2 separate regions of the Homo sapiens genome follow, and region 2 is linked to region 1. Evidence: promoter capture Hi-C in human tissues and cell types (Jung and others, 2019). All regions are on one chromosome and are shown on one strand. Each heading gives the region's core, a stretch centred on a gene start or on the middle of the fragment in contact. The rest is flanking DNA. Distances are from core to core; before and after follow the strand shown. Region 1 holds the start of NAV3 (neuron navigator 3). Region 2 has its middle 40 kb from the start of NAV3.

Region 1 (4,543 bases), core at 457-2,956:
AACAGATACTCCATTTACCCTGATATGATTATTACACATTGTATGCCTGTATCAGAATCTCTCATGAACCACATAAATATATACACCAATATGTACCCATAAATATATACACCTAATATGTACCAATAAAAGTAAAAATGCACAAAACAAAAGTGACGCTTATCAAGGTACAAATGAATCCGCATGAAGTTCAGCAGCTTCAGTGCCATTCTAGCATGCGTGACTGGAGAAAACGGTTGTAGTATGCTTTAGAAACCAAGGGCTATGAGCAACTACTCACAAAATATCATAAATTAAATGACTGAAAAAGATGTCAGTAATAAGTAAAAGAGTAGCGTTTCAGTTTACAAGGGAAAGTCCATATAAATGTGCAGTATCAAGGAAAATAGTATGTCATTTTCCTTCATACTGCAATGAATTAAGCAGCCTATGATACAAATTTTCAAGCAGAAATTCTTTGAAATGCAAATGACATTTAGAGAAAAGTGATGGTGTCTATATGAATTATTACAAATAAATGTCTTTTTGAAAGTACCTATTTTCATACATTGCAGTATGGATGACAATAGGTTCTCTTTTTCTCACATTTGTGACTGATTATGATTATTAGTAATAGAGCAATATCTAGAACTAACTAGGCATTCATCAATAAGTAGTATTAAATGATTACAATAGATGCATATTCAGAAAATTTTGATCATGACTTTTACAACTCTAAACTAAGAATACAGTGTTTACATAAGCTAAATATTCAGCTTTTCAGCCATTATAACTACTTACATCCTTACACTGGTATTCCTCTACTACTCCCCATTTCATAACATGTTTTATAGTGCACTTAAAGAGAAATGTGCATTTTAGCTACACAAGTCTGCAGGTAACTTCAGCAACTAACCTTGCTGTCTTCTTTCTCCTTGGCTTTTCCTTGGAGGGGTTTCTTCTCTCCAAATTCACAGGTTGATTTTAACGCAAGCTGACAAGAAAGCATGGAGCTCTCTGTTTCAGTAAGTTCCAAAGGTCTTGAAGAACAGTGCTGTGACCCAGTAGTGCCAAGATTTGGTATCGGAAGAGCAGTATGCACAGGCTTTGACCCAACAGCTGGCTGCCTCAGTTTTGAGGCAACCCCAAGAACAGGCATGGCTTCTATAAAATTATCTTCTTGCTGCCAAAGAAAATGCTTCTAACCTCAGTCTGGTAGACTCCAACTTTAGTATTTCCAGAACAAATACTTTAAACAAAACTAGCAGTCATCCTGATTTTTAAAAAGCTAATAATATAATTTTCAGGAAGAGGCAAAACTTCCCTGCATCTTTAGTTAAGTATCTTTTCTTTCTTGCTGGCTGGGATTCATATTCATTCTCATTCTCTCTCTCTCTCTCTTTCTCTCTCTCTCTCTCTCTCTCTGTCTCTCTCTCTCTCTCTCTCTCTCTGTCTCTCTCTCTCTCTCTGTTCAGTGACTCAGTATCTAAGTAATACTAAATACTCCTTTGGGGAGTAAACTCTTCTTCAAGGTAACTGCTACAAAGCTCCTTCTTAGGATTAAAGAGCTCTTAGTTTTGCTTATTTTTTTTTCTCACTAAAGCAGTCTGAGTCTGAACTTTGAGATTGAAAAAGAGGAAAAAATCAAAAGGAAAAGCCCTTCAGTCCAACTGTCAGAGCAGCCAAAAGACCACAACAGTGGAAGGACAGGGGTTCTTCCTGATTTCAGAAATAGCCAGCCTGCATTCTCTTTTTAAAGAAAATTGTATTTCCCCCAGCTCAGAAAAAATAAAAAGAATGGACATGTTAATGGCCAAAACAAACAGCTGTTGGAAGAACTTTTAGCCCGGAAACAATCTCAGCAATAAAGTTGTTTGTCTGATTTCCAGCTATTTTTCACTACTGACAGCCATGAGCCACGATGTTCATTCTGTTGCATCCCATGAAATCAGGCTAAAATCATGCAATAGTGCAACTAGCTAAAGCAGTTAAATCATTCATCGGACCATAGCTGCCTAGGTTATGAAAATAGAGTAAACACAGGAAGCAGGGCACTAAATATGTAGTAATCATTGTTCCCAAATTTAATAAGTCATGATTATAAAAACATTCAAAGCTAACACTTATGTGGAATGTATTACAAAGCAGTTATGGAGCTAAGCATTTTATGCATTATCACATTTAATCATTGGAATGACTCAAAGTATAGGCATATTTATTTTCTTCACTTTATAGAAAGAACAGCTATGACTTGGAGACACTGAAAAAATTGACTAAAATGATGAAGCTAGAAAGGGGGAAAGAATGTATGATTTTAGTTTGTAAACCTGTCTTTTAAAATGGTTGAAAATAACACTGTTATTCAAGCTTATGACGTCCAACTTAAAATCCCAAGCTTCTAAAAACTGTCCAAACAGATACTCAGTGAGAATGAATGATGATGCTTCCATCCATAGAATTATTTTAATATAATCATAGCATGTTCTATTTCTGGTTAAAGCATGTCAGGAACTTTAAATAAACAAGGGGTAAACTTTTAAGAAAACATCTAATGTACCATGCATTATTGTTCTGAAACTGATTGCACTCAGAAAATGGATACAGAGAGCAATTATATACACCAAATATAAAAATTAGTAATAATGCAACCAAAGGTCTTAGAAAAATGAGTGGTGGACACTTAGTATAGACACAATGAATCATGGAAATTATTAAATCGTAACCATTTTTTATAGAAAATGTCTTTCTTTAGTGAAGAAATGGTCATCTTTGGCCTACTGTTTCCAGGTCTTTAAATCACTACGTACTTTTATCTAAGAAGCAGTAATTTATAGATGAAAGAGCCAATAACTAAAAGTATATGTTCTGCTGATGCAGCATAGAAGACAGGAAATGTAAGTTAGAAGTCTTGCAGGCTTTAAAAATAGTAACCCAAGTGGGCTTTACACAGCGGGGTAATACAAAACAAATACAACACTAGTGGTATCAAAGAAATGAAATAATCTCTCTGAGGAAGTAAGTTATTTTGCAATTTGCAAACCATTCAACACATTATAACTTTCAGAAACTATAAGGTAATACAGAGTTGGAGAGGTTCATGTTCGTAAAATGAGGTTTAGTTCATAATAAGACATATGCAACTTGTAATCCTCACAATGCAAAACAAAACAGCACCTAAATAATAGAACTTGTGGGAAAAATTGATTCTAGGAAGTTCACTCAAAACATATGCAACTTTGGGAGTATATTGCTAGCAAAAATAATATTGGCACCTCAGAAAATAATTTGGACCACTCAAGGAAGTGACTCAGAATTACATAAAAAAATAATTGGGTATAAATGCTGGCAACACTTTAACCAGAATTGGTGGAAGAAATCCGGTTGGAAGGCAAACTCCAAGCCAGTAGGCTTGCCATTGAAATGGGTACAGGGTCAGGGCAACTGCAAATATTTAAGAGCTGCACAAGGCCAGGGGCATGCCCCTTTGAAGAGGAAGCCCCAGATGCAGGCATTCATTTTTGTTTTTGTTTTTAGTTTTCTTAAAACTGAGCCAAAAGGGCTCCTGCTGACTATACAACATTCAAACTGAGGGCTTCTTTGCCCACCCAAGGTTATAATTCTACGCTGACTATTCTGCTTCCCTTTGCCTAGAATAAATTGTATATAAAGCTACACAACTTCTGCATTATACTAGTACAAAATTCCTGTTTGCCAATTACAAATGAGCTCATTGGTATTTTGGAAACATGCATTGGAGGAGAATGTATCGTAATTCCTGGAACAATTAGATTGAAAAAAAAGGATTCACATTCAATAAGATGTCTTTTCACTTTGAAATACCTTTTGCATATTAGGCAATATCTTTCACTCTGACTGAAATATAAGATGGTATTAGTAGCCACTGTCAACTAATTTTTTGCAGTAATATCTACCACCAAAAGCAACAAAACCAAACTAACTTACTATAAAAAATGTGCTTTGTGCCAGGAGTTGTCATCTCAATTTATCTTAAAAGAACCACACCGTTTTGAGACCTAGGAGACAAAGGCACCGAGAAAGTAAAAAATTAGCTTACGGTCACTGATACCTTGTAGATGAAGTTCAAAATGAGGTTTTACAAACTGAGTTCAACAAACCAGATGTGATGGTGACCTGAGTGCTTACTAAAATATAGATGATTGTATTCATCTCGAACCCACTGTGTTAGTCCATTTGTGCTACTATAACAGAATATCTAAAACTGGGTAATTTATAAATAACAACAGATTTGCTTCTTACAGTTCTGGAGGCTGGGAAGCATAAGAGTGAGGGGCCCATATGTGGTGAGGGTCTTCTTGCTGCATCTACCCATGGTGGAAGGCAGAAGAGCAAGAGAGCACTCATATAAGAGAGACAGAAAGGGCCAAGCTCGCTTTTATAACGGATTATACTCTCATGATAATCCCACTTCCACAATAACATTAATCCATGTATGAAGTTAGTGTTCTCATGGCCTACTCACCTTTTAATGTCTCCATCTCTTAATACCATTCACAATGCCAACTAAATTTCAACATGAGTTTTT
Region 2 (4,762 bases), core at 151-2,650, 39 kb after region 1:
CTCTCAGAATATCCCGCACTGAAATCATGCAATGAATTAGCCATGACCCAGCACACTTGAAGGGCCATAGTAACATGTCCACTGAGAGACATGCTTTTCAGTAGTAATTGGGGGATCAGATTATTTACTGGCCAAATCTCCCATCTATTAGTGTGGGCTTCTTAGAGGCAGACATCAAGATGAGATTAAGTGTACAAAGATTTTAAGGGAAACACCCATAAGAGAAAATATAGAGAGTGCCTTCAGATTGTAATACAAGTCTGATCCCAAAGGAACAGAGCAGGAAAGAAGGCTGAAATGAATGTGTCTCAGGCTACTGTGTAATCTAGGGAAAGTTCTGCAAAATTTTCCGGGAGTACTTGAACCAAAATTGCCCATCGAAGGAATCCTGTGTCTTCCAGAAACAGACTTCTCGTGGTATCCCTTAGCCATGCTTGATATGGCTGGGAGCAGCCCCTGGAAAGCATGTGTAAATGTGGCAATGGATTTCAGAGCAGGGCAGCAGGTTCCTTGTATGATGCTCCCTGTAGCTTGTGGTCTGAGTGACACATACTCATGGCCACCATGACTGACATCCAATGCCTTAGAACTACCTGATATTTGGGCACCATGGTAGGTGGGCACATAAAGGAACCTTTAAAAAGGCTTAGGATTAATTCTCCACCAACCTGACAGAATGTGGGTTAAAACAGAAAATAAAATGACTTATAAAGCAAAGGTTGTTTTATTTCTTGCCCACCTGAGTTTGTGAACTGAACTTTATACTTGCTACATGTAGGAGGATACAGCATTCCAAACAGAGTGAAATGCTTTTTAAAAAAATCCAGAGAGTTTTTTAAAAAAGACAGTTTGGAGGAATTGGAAGAAAATAAGTCCAGTTGCAGCATACAGAGTGAGGAAGGGAATAATCACAGATAATGATGAAAGACTTAAAGATGCCTTGTATTTAACAGGCTTTTAGAATAGAAGTACAGTTGTCACTCAATATCCACAGGGGATTGGTTCTGGAACTCCCCCAAATACCAAAGCCATGGATGCTCAAGTCTCTGATATAAAATGATGTAGTATTAACATATAACCTATGCATATCCTTACAGGCATACTTTAAATCATCTCTAGATTACTTATAATAAGTCACAGAATGTGAGTGCTATGCAAATACTTGCTATATTGTATTGTTTGGGGAATGAACAAGAAATAGTCTGTGAATGTTCAGTACAGATGCAGCCATCATAGGCGTAACTATATTTTTATCCATGATTGTTTGAATCTACGAATGGGGAGTCCTTGGATATGGAGGGCTCACTATATATAGAGATGTAAGGAGTGTTAGGCCCTGCCACATGCCTGAAGTCAACAATGGGATAGTGATTACCCTTTGCAGAGCCTCAGTTCCTCTTCTGTAAAATAGGAAAAAAGATAGCACCTATGCCACAGGGGAGTTATATGGTTTAAATGAGACAATATACTCAAACCACCAATATACATTTCTAAGAGCTAAGCCTGTTGGATCTTATCACGGGTCTTGTTTAATAAAGCCAGGAAAATGCCCTATTTTATCATTAGGGCCTATCCATAAGATTGAGTGAAGAAGAAAATAATAATGAAATAAAAGGGAATTTTTTTTTTTTTTTTTTTGAGATGGAGTTTTGCTCTTGTCACCCAGGCTGGAGTGCAATGGTGCGATCTTGGCTCACTGCAACCTCCACCTCCCGGGTTCAAGCAATTCTTCTACCTAAGCCTCCTGAGTAGTTGGGATTACAGGCACCGATCACCATGCCTGGCTAATTTTTGTATTTTTAGTAGAGACGGGGTTTCACCATATTGGCCAGGCTGGTCTCAAACTCCTGACCTTGTGATCCACCCACCTTGGCCTCCCAAAGTGCTGGGACTACAGGCATGAGCCACCGCGCCCGGCCAAATGGAAAATATTTTTATTGTCCTACAGGAACAAAGAAAGCACCAACTTGAGATCAAGCTTCCTGCTTTGTTGTTGTTGTTTCGTTTTCCTTCTCCTTTGAGGGAAAACACTAAAAGGGCATATGCAGAGTAGGGAGGAGAGAGTAGTAAGAGGGACGCCCTTAAAACCATCAGCAGAGGAAAGCATGAAGATACACAGACCTCAGTCAGCAAAGGTCGCCCTGAGTGAAGTGGTCAGGTGAGAGAGGAGAGGCTCTGGTTTGCACTCCTGAATGTTCTTATATTACCTAGACACTGAGTTGAGAGTCACTGGGCCTGCTGAAGTGCCCTCTTGATTATGAATCCCATAGGTTTAGGTAAATGGCCAGGTTCTCAGAGCCAGACAGATGTTGCAGAGTCTGAAAGTCTAGCAAGCCTCCAACATAAGCAAGAGTTAAGAGAAGTCCTAGTAAACTAGGGTACAAAGGTGGGCCCTGATCAAACCATGAAGCCAGATTGCAAATTACACAAGCCATTGATCTCACCTGCAAAGATCAGCAACAAGCTGGACAAGGATCATCATCCTGGAGATCAGAGGAAACAGGTGCTTCTGTATCCAAAACTAATTCTTTCATGACAAGATCATGAAAATTACTCACTCCATGATACCTTATACCCAGAACAATCTAGGAAAGAAGACTAAAATGAGGGCAGATGACTTCAAAATCAGAGATTGAATGTCTTCTCTTAGACATACTGAGTACCACCTAAAGAGCTAGTTGAACATATCGTAACTATTTTTTTTCTGGTGAGTCAAAAGATGTGAAGTTTTGTGAAGAAAACCAGTTTAGTTTAATATGGCATATGCCCACTGTGCATCTCAGTTGTAGTATGAATAAATTTGTTGCTTTTTAAAATTGTTATTTGTATTAGAAATGACAGTAGGGGCACTGAGAGGCTTATCACTGGTAGTGTAAGAGGCTTATTACTGGTAGTGTAAGCTGCTGTGGTGGTAAGAGAAGTTTCACAGGGGTGGAATCTGCCAAACAGACTTGCCACGTCTCAAAAGGTTACTGGGTGCTCACCAGGTAGTCACTAGGTAGATGAGGAAAATATATTCTAGACCAGGGTTTTCCAACCTGCCACCCACATTCGGCCCAGGACAGCTTTGAATGTGGCACAACACAAATTCGTAAGCTCTCTTAAAATGTTATGAGACTTTTTTTGTGAATTTTTTTTTTCTTTTCTCTTGTTCTCTTTTTTTTTTTTTTTTTTTTCTTTTCGAGACGAAGTTTTGCTCTTGTTGCCCAGGCTGCAGTGCAATGGCACGATCTCAGCTCACTGCAACGTCCGCCTCCCAGGTTCAAGTGATTCTCCTGCCTCAGTCTCCCAAGTAGCTGAGATTACAGGCACCCACCACCACACCCGGCTGCTTTTTGTATTTTTAGTAGAGACGGGGCTTCATCATGTTGGCCAGGCTGGTCTTGAACTCCTGACCTCAGGTGATCCACCCGCCTCCGCCTCCCAAAGTTGCTGGGATTACAGGCATGAGCCACTGCGCCCAGTTGACTTTTTTTTTTTTTTTAGCTCATTAGCGATCATTAGTGTTAGTGTATTTTATACAATTATTCTTCCAATGTGGCCAGGAAAGTAAAAAAATTGGACACCCCTGTCCTAGACAGTGGAAACAAGAGGATAAACCAGGCAGCAGGTAATAGCAAGGAGTTTTGGGGAAAAGAAAGAAGTTCAGTAGTAGCTGGAGTGTCATTGGTAAGGGAAGGAAGGGCTAAAGATTAATAAACCAAGTGATGCAGGGAGGAGGCAGCTGTTAAAAGGTTGGTAAGAACTTGGACAAAACAATCAGACATGCATTCAAGGAAATCTCACTCTGGCAAAGAAGTAGAGAATTTACTGGAGGGATTTTGGATCTGATTAAGGGAAATTGTTTAGTTAGAATAATCCAAGCAAAATAATGATTAAAGCCTGAACTAAGGCAGAAGCAATTGAATGGAAAGTAGAGGATGAAGGATTAGATATGTTAGGAACGTAGAAGAGTCTTTGTTAACTAAGTAGGCTGACTTTGTTAATGAATTACTATGAGTAGGGTAGGAGATAAGAGGAAAGCATCTCGGTTGGTTTTCAGAGCTCTTGCTGGGGGAGATGGAGGAGAGGAGAAACTGGTCATGAAGAAATAAGTTTGGGGAGCTAGGGAATGGAGAAGATAATTCAGTTAGGAGGCAGAATTAAACTTCCTTTCTGTTTTTATTTTGTCTTGTTTTAACCTAGTACAAGTACTTAATCTTTTGGAATCTCAATTACTGTGTCTTAGAAATGGAAATCCTATTATTTATCCAACATGACCGCAGTACTCATGCCTGGAATCTCTACAAATTCTACATAATAGAAGGAAGAAGGAAGAAAAGGGGGGTGGGAAGGAGGAGGAGGAAACACCTGAAAAAGTCTTTTTTTAGAAAAAAAAAAAAAAGCACCAAATGCTTTTAAGAGTATTCCATGTGTAAAACTCATTAAGTCAAAGTATACTGACAGATTCACAGACTTTCAGAGCTGAAAGACACCGTAGAGATCATGTAATCCAAGTTAGCCTTTTATGGATGAGGCCACAGGAGTGCAGAGAGGTTAAGAAACTTGGCCAAGATCACACAAGGGAGCCCATCACAGGATTGTTGTCCCAGCGGGCTTTGGTGTTGCATCTACTGGCCACACTTAGCACTGACTTAAGGCGAACACTGCCACAGATGAGAAGTAAATGCCGCATTTAAACCTGTTGCACTGCATTCAGGATCTCTAATTTTACTATAAACATCTCAACATCATTCTGAATAATCTCTCACAAAGGAAAGAA

Evidence for each region. The method cuts DNA at HindIII sites, captures the fragments that hold promoters and counts their contacts. A contact is called where the count stands out against the background at its distance.
Region 2: a fragment that was not itself captured here is called in contact with the fragment with the promoter of NAV3 in region 1 in 1 of the 25 tissues and cell types used here (mesenchymal stem cells).

What each region holds. Positions count from the first base shown.
Region 1 is chr12:77,828,057-77,832,599 of GRCh38, reverse strand. It overlaps NAV3 (neuron navigator 3), which reads right to left and starts at 1,706. Exons shown (of 40, transcript NM_001024383.2): 1 at 896-1,706. The coding sequence starts at 1,138. The HindIII fragment of the contact is 9,569 bases long and covers 1-4,543 here.
Region 2 is chr12:77,788,231-77,792,992 of GRCh38, reverse strand. It overlaps a transcript of NAV3 not described here. Among named protein-coding and RNA genes, the nearest start is that of NAV3, 40 kb to the left of the region's middle. The HindIII fragment of the contact is 4,909 bases long and covers 1-3,854 here.